Regions from separate parts of the Homo sapiens genome. Here region 2 is linked to region 1. The links are contacts of gene promoters, found by promoter capture Hi-C in blood cells and fetal thymus (Javierre and others, 2016). All regions are on one chromosome and are shown on one strand. Each heading gives the region's core, a stretch centred on a gene start or on the middle of the fragment in contact. The rest is flanking DNA. Distances are from core to core; before and after follow the strand shown.

Region 1 (3,727 bases), core at 859-3,358:
AGTCAATCTGCTTTATCCATTTTTTTTTTTTTTTTTTGACAGAGTCTCACTCTGTTGCCCAGGCTGGAGTGCAGTGGCACATTCTCTCATCACTGCAACCTCTGCCTCCTGAGTTCAAGCGATTCTTCTGCCTCAGCCTCCCGAGTAGCTGAGATTACAGGTGCCCGCACCACGCTCAGCTAATTTTTTGTGTTTTTAGTTGAGACGGGGTTTCACTATGTTGGCTAGGCTGGTCTCGAACTCCTGACCTCGTGATCCACCCACCTTGGCCTCCCAAAGTGTTGGGATTACAGGCATGAGCCACCGCACCCAGCTGCTTTGTCCATTTATTGTCAACCAAGGATTATGGCCCATTCCTGTGAGTGGCCTGACCCAGCCAGCAAGACCCCCGGCATTAGGAGGCAAAGACATCAGGCCTTGAACCATGCCCTCAGCCCACCCCCACCCTGATAATAACTTCTTCTCCTCCCCGCCTTGGCTTTGTTCACACGGCATCCTCCCATCTCTTCTTCCCTTTGCTGTCCCTCCTCTGCCTCCTTCTCTGGCTCTAGGAGGCTCGGCCTTCTCTGGGAGAGAGGATTTAGTCCTAGCCGCCATCCTGCCTCCCAGGTCTTTCTCAGTACCCTCTGGTGTCACACTATACCTCCCCCGTCACTTCACACCCTGGCTTCCTCCCATTGAAGCCCTTCCCCACCAGGCCGAGACCAGGACTACCCCCTGCCCCTCCATCTCCCTTTATGTCCCGTATGTGATGAATCTTGCTTCTCCACTTCTCAGTGAGTCTCCATCAGCTCCTGCCTTGCCACCCCACCATCGTCACCTCATGTCCTGTAACAGTCCCTCTGAGCCCCTCTCACTCCCATTCTGCCAGGCCCGATAGCACAGTGACTTTGACAACCCTCTGGGCTAGGATTGCTGTTCCCATTTTACAGATGAGGAGACAGGCTCAGAGATTCAGTGGTAAAACTGGAATCTTACTTGCTCCAGCCTGAACTATGAGGAACTGAACTATATTTTCCTGTCTAGCAGAATTCCATCCTAAATACCTATCTACCTCCCCCCCACACCCCACTGCCCATCAGAGACAACCCAAAATATCTGGTCTGGCTACTCTAGCCTCCTCCCACCACCCTGGACAGCCAGGCCCTTCCCAGCTTCCCTCCACCAGCCAGGGATCGGAGAACTCACTATGCCTCTGGCACCTCGGAGCCTTTGCTGATGCTGATCGCTAAGACTGGAATCCTTTTCTCCTCCCTCCGCTCCGTGGACCTATCCATCGTCCAGGACTCAAATGTTCCCTTGTCTACACCAATGCCTAAGTGTCCCAAGGGCTGGTGGTTCCTTCTTCTGTGTACCGTGAACAACACATGCCCTCACTAGTGCATTAACTGACATCATTGCACTGTGTACACGCAGACTCTCCGCTTTCTTCAACTGAGTTTTCCAGAGTGTCCCTCCAATCGGTGGGCAAAGGAAGGGAGAGGGGGACAGCACCTACTCGGGACAGACACAGGGAGGGTGCAGATTGGATTGGCCCCTCCTTCTCTCCAACCTAAGTTGTTTTCATGTTAGCCGCCTCCTCCTATGACCCCAAGTCCTGCCCTTTATCCTGTCTGGGGGTAGAGACTCCAGCTGGTCTGGGCCCTCCCTTTGAGGCTCACACAGCTCTCAATACCGAAGTTATTTAGCGGCCAGTCCTTCGAGGGTGACAGGTCCGATTCTTCCCAGAGAGCCAGGTGGCGGGGCACGGAGCTGGGTCCCAGCCCCCAACCCCACCTCGCTGCGCGGGCTCTTTGGCCAGGAAGCCAGGGTCTTGGGACAGTGAAGAGCCTTTGCGCATGTGCGACTGCACGGATTTTCCCCCCCCGCCCCTTACCTCCCTCCACCCAGTCCCAGAGCTTGAGAGTCCTGCGGCAGGGCGGGGCCCACAGTCCTACCCACCCCGCCCCCCCGACCCCCGAGCGCCGCAGCGGGTGGTGGGGCGCTGATTCTGCCCAATCTCGGTTTCCCTTCCCTCCCACAGCCGGGAGTGGGGCTCCCGGTCTGGCCCGTTTTGGGCGTCCCCACTCACGGGTCAAGCCTCGGCGGGGCAGGAGATGACGGTGCAGAAAGGGCCGGGCAGGGTGGGGGTGGGTGCAGCAGCTGCGGCGGGGGCGGGGCGGCCAGGGCTGCTGGGAATAGGGAGGGTGAGGGTTCTTCCCCGGGCACTAGGAGCCACACCGCGGAGGCCGCGCGCTGGCTGGGGACGTGCATGTAGTCAGCTTTCCCTCCCCACCCGGGGCGCACCAGGAGATGAGGCCAGGAGGGGGCAGTTCGGCCCGCGGCCCCACACGTCCAGCGCCCACTCAGGGCCTGCCAATTTCCAGGTGCTTTCCATCTATCTTGTCATCGACCCCTCTTCTCTGCCTGTCACAGAGGAAGTTCAGAGAAGGATACCAACTCACCAGGATCACAGAACGCATGCATTGCAGAGCTGAGCGCGACCCAGAAGCCCCCGCTTCCCAGAGATTGCAGCGGCCCCGCGCCAGCCCTGGACCCGGGCCTAAGCAAGGGAGCTAGGCACCGGATCCCCAAGCACCTCCACCCTCCTGGGGTTCCTCTATTAAAAACCTAGTATCTGGACGCTTCTACAAATGCAAAATCACCCCCCACCCATAACTCCTGTGCTCCCTGGTCGATAGAGAAAAGAGACCAGAAACAGAAAAAAAAAAAACGGAGTTTATGTGCAGGGATAGTCGGGGTAGTGGAGAGAGGCCATTTAGTAGTGGGGGCTTCGCTCACCCCCGATAGGGGGCGCCAGGAAGCCAAGAAGGATGTGCAGCGGCGGACTGGTTCCAAGCCCCTTCAGAGGCGCGGGGTCTTAGGGGGAGGGACTGGCTTCCGGGCCCAAGTAGGAGGCAGTCCGGCTCTCAGGAGTGCTATAAATGGTTAAAGCCCCAGGCAGGCCCAGGGCTGGGCCTCCCAAGGCCGCCTGGACATCCAGCAGGAGTGGGGCCCCGAGCGTGGGGTCCTTCCCTAGGAGAAGTGGGACTGCGCTCACCAGGGGAAATGTTCCCCCTCCTTTCTTCAGGGAAGGAGAGCCCTGCCCGCCTGCCTTCTGCTCAGTTAGGATAAAACATCCATTCTTAACCTCCCCACTCTCGCCCAATGGTGAGGGCATGGGTGGCTCAAGGAACGCTCTGCAGTGCAGCCTGAACTCAGGATTTCCCTGCAAATTGCAGATTGCCCCCTCACTCAATCAAGGTAGCTCAGCCCAATCACGGCGTCCTCCCAGGTAGGAGTCATCACAACCATTACCTGGGCTTGGAGAATTTAACCCCTTGACCGCCAGCTCAGGCTCACCCCGCTCTGGAACCAAGGGCTGCATCTGCGTGAGAACCGCAGGGAGCAGCTGGGGAGGGGACCTAGCAGCTGAGGGGGACAGCTGGGAAATCACTGTGACAATTCTTCTAGAGACACGGCTTTGGCTCACAGAGAACAGCTATGGACCAGAGGGCTTGACTCAGCCACCCCTGGCCTCTGCCCTCCCCGACCCACTTCTTACCAAGGACAGCTCCATGTCCAAGTCCATCAGGGTCCATTCTCGCCCTTGGAGACTGGGGCCCAGCACCTGAGGAGAGCTCTGGGTCAGTGGTGCCCTCCCCAGGCTCCACAGAGAGCTAGACCCCACCAGGTCTCATGCCCCTGTTTCAGCAGAAGGGGTACTCACATCTAGAGGCCCTGCAGG
Region 2 (3,727 bases), core at 657-3,156, 130 kb after region 1:
GTCTTTATCCTGGCAGCATTTGAATTAACCATTAAAAAAAAATGATGGGTACATGCCTGTAATCCCAGCACTTTGAGAGGCCAAGGCGAGAGGATTGCTTGAGTCCAGGAGTTTGAGACCAGCCTGGGCAACATGGTGAGACCCCCATATCTACAAAAAAATTACCTGGGCATGGTGGCGCGTGCCTGTGGTTCCAGCTACTTGGGAGGCTGAGGTGGGAGGATCGCTTGAGCCCAGGAGGCAGAGGTTGCAGTAAGCCAAGATCACACCACTGCACTCCAGCCTGGGTGACAGAGAGATATCTAGTTTCAAAAACAAACAAACAACAACAAAAAAGGCCAGGCACAGTGGCTCAGAGCGCCTATAATCCCAACACTTTGGGAGGCCAAGACAGGCGGATCACCTGAGGTCAGGAGTTTGAGACCAGCCTGGCCAAAATGGTGAAACCCCATCTCCAATAAAAACACAAAAATTAGCCAGGTGTGGTGGCGGGTGCCTGTAATCCCAGCTACTTGGGAGGCTGAGGCAGGAGAATCGCTTGAACCTGGGAGGCGGAGGTTGCAGTGAGCCAAGATTACATCACTGCACTCCAGCCTGGATGACAGAGCAAGACACTGTCTCAAAAAAAAAAAAAAAAATGTAGAAAGTAGAAGGAAGGAGGGGAAGAGTGAAGGATGCTCTTCTCAGACATATTATTTCTGCCTTCTCTCACTTGGAATATGTAATTCAGGAAAGGTCATGAAAGAGAATTTCACCTTTACACTAAAATGGAAATAATGCAATCCAAAAGAAGAGAAAACGGGACTTCACAATCTTCAAGTGCTTCAGAGGTGCATTTACCATGTATGCAGATTCACGTACTCTAACTGGAAGGTACTATGACATACTAATTTTAAAACATTTTAATTTTTTTTTTTTCAGACAGAGTCTTGCTCTGTTGCCCAGGCTGGAGTGTTGTGGTACAATCTCAGCCCACTGCAACCTCCGCCTCCCGGGTTCAAGCAATTCTCCTGCCTCAGTCTCCCAAGTAGCTGGGATTACAGGCACATGCCAGCATACCTGGCTAATTTTTTGTATTTTTAGTAGAGGTGGGGTTTCATCACGTTGGCCAGTCTGGTCTCGAACTCCTGACCTCAGGTGATCCACCTGCCTCGGCCTCCCAAAGTGCTGGGATTACAGGCATGAACCACCCCACCTAGCCAAAACATTTTAATTTTTTCAGAAAGTCGACTTCCTCTCTTAGATTGAAAAATAACTAAAATAACTAAAATAAAAACTTTTCTTTAAAAATACAAACGCTCTGCCAGCTACAAAGGTGTCAAATATATATATATATATAAGCTTGCAGTTACCAGTTCTAAATTTTATGATTCCGTTATTATTAGAGTATTATAGTTTATCTAAAGCATATTTTTAAAAACCAGATTTCAATACACTAAACTGTCAATAACTAAGTGCTGTCAATTCATATTTTAGTCGAACTGAAATACTTAAAATCCAGATGTGACAAGGTATTTGTAAAGTTGTCTAATTTCTCTTGAAGAAAATCACACTCCAAAGCTTTACCATAGAGATCTTTTATTTGGAATGACTGGGCTATCTACAGAGAAGGAACTTCTTGAGCTTAAATAGGGATTTCTCAAAGCTAACATCAAGAAGTCCTGTAAACTCTGCCAAATTGTGGATGGTATATAAACAAACACAATATGTATTTTGGGACAAAGATCCTGCAGGCAAGTGCGTAAATGGTACCAGAAGAAGCAGAATCATAGACCTTTATTAGAAAAGGCCATTTAAAATAAAATTCTGTCCTCACTCATTAAATCCAATCTTGTTAGATTTTGCTTTATTTTATGCTCATAAAAATAAATTAAAAGACTTTTAAGTATAAAGTCCAGAAAGAAAAAAAATACAACTTATCAAAATTTTTAAAAGTAGCTACTCTAATGACATATACTTAATAAATACTTCTCGATGTCTGACATTAATGTATTTGACTATCAATTAAAATCATAAGCTATAAACAAGAATGTAACAACCATAGAAAAGTTTAACCTCTCTTTTTCTGAGGTCAATGTGGTAAAAACGAGATAGCATATTCAATTTCCACAGAAAAAAATGAACAGTAGCACTGTAAAGTTCATTTTTTTCCTTTTATGAAATGATTTTCATACCCCTTATCTTTAAAGTCATAAACTGGGATCGCAAAGTAAGTACATCCAATCATTATTTCAAAATCCCAATGAAGCTTTATGAGACACAGAATACATGTAAAAACCATTAATCTGACCACTCAAGACTAATAATTTATGGTCAACCATAATCACTTGCATTTATTTGAAATAAAAGTAATTGGAAATAAGTCCTAAGAGGAAAGATCAAAGGAACTGGAGTTGCCTGGTCTACACAATTTTAACTTAAGAATGATTTAAATTCTGATTAGTTGCTTTTCCCTTGTCTTTTGACAGCTAGATTAAAGAATTAAGAACATTTTGGCTGCCAGTGTTTGTAACACACCAGGATGGAACACTTGGGAAAGATGTAGTGTTCCAACATTGTTCAACTACCTGACGTGAAGCTTACCTAAGGCACACTGTAGCACAAACACTCTATCAATCAGTTAGCTATAATCTCACCCTACAGAACCATCAAATTGCCTAACTGTAGACAGGGGTTTACAATTTAAAAGGCATTTTCACATATTCTGGTACTACATTTAATTCTCACATGAGGCACATGAATAGGGCAGACATTCTGATCCTCATTTACATGTTAAGGAAAATAGTTATGACTGTCTTGACTCAAATCTAGAGCTCTTTCTATTATACTGTTATTAGTTTAAATCATTTCTGAGAAAGATCCTTATTAAGAGCCAATGTAGACAGCTCACCAGGTACCTGGGTATAAAAGTTTCAAATATATTTGAAGGATTATAAAATTCTGTGCTCTGACTTGGTCATATGTAAGGTATATACTTATAATCAGTCACCCGTTAACAGACCTTCCTTATAGAAGCCCTTGATTTGAAAATATTCTATAGCCACATAAGCAACAGAATGAATAAAAGGACTAATTTCTATGAGCCCATTTTCTTAAATCATAAAACTGTATTTCAAATAATAGAGAATATAGAGCTTTTTGTTTCCGCTCTATTAGGATTCTAATTTTTTCTGAGTTCGCTAAATTTAAGTGAGTATTATTGTAGCTGGCCTCCAAGATGGCCTCAATGATCCCAGCCTCCTGGTATTCACACCCCTGTGTAATCCCTCCCTCCCTGTTGAATGTGGGCTAGACTTAGTGACCAGCTTCTAATGAACAGGCTAAGCAACAAGTGACTCAAATAATAGATCATAAAAGGTATGAAAGTGACTTGAAGAATGGATCATAAAAGGCATGGTGGACCAGGCGCAGTGGCTCACACCTGTAATCCCAGCACTTTGGGAGGCTGAGGCAGGCAGATCACCTGATGTTAGGAGTTTGAGACCAGCCTGGCCAACATGGTGAAACCCTGTCTCTACTAAAAGTACAAAAATTAGCCACATGTGGTGGCATGTGCCTGTAATCCCAGCTACTTGAGAGGCTGAGGAAGGAGAATTGCTTGAACCCGGCAGGCAGAGGTTGTAGAGCTGAGATTACGCCACTGCACTCCAGCCTGGATGACAGAGCAAGACCCCGTCTCAAATAAATAAATAAATAAATAAAAGGCATGGTGGCTTCACTCTTTTTC

The links. The method cuts DNA at HindIII sites, captures the fragments that hold promoters and counts their contacts. A CHiCAGO score of 5 or more calls a contact.
Region 2: a fragment that was not itself captured here is called in contact with the fragment with the promoter of NOL3 in region 1 in 9 of 17 cell types (activated CD4 T cells, naive CD4 T cells, total CD8 T cells and 6 more); the score reaches 9.1 in activated CD4 T cells.

Annotation. Positions count from the first base shown.
Region 1 is chr16:67,168,919-67,172,645 of GRCh38, reverse strand. NOL3 (nucleolar protein 3) reads right to left here and starts at 2,108. Exons shown (of 4, transcript NM_001276309.3): 1 at 2,072-2,108. It overlaps HSF4 (heat shock transcription factor 4), which reads right to left. Exons shown (of 13, transcript NM_001374675.1): 10 at 3,710-3,727; 11 at 3,545-3,610; 12 at 3,298-3,367; 13 at 2,705-3,015. The coding sequence ends at 2,861. RefSeq lists silencers at 58-221, 1,862-2,151 and enhancers at 2,362-2,511, 3,002-3,051. The HindIII fragment of the contact is 13,408 bases long and covers 1-3,727 here.
Region 2 is chr16:67,042,708-67,046,434 of GRCh38, reverse strand. The region is part of intron 3 of CBFB (core-binding factor subunit beta); the gene reads right to left. Among named protein-coding and RNA genes, the nearest start is that of CBFB, 15 kb to the right of the region's middle. The HindIII fragment of the contact is 688 bases long and covers 1,563-2,250 here.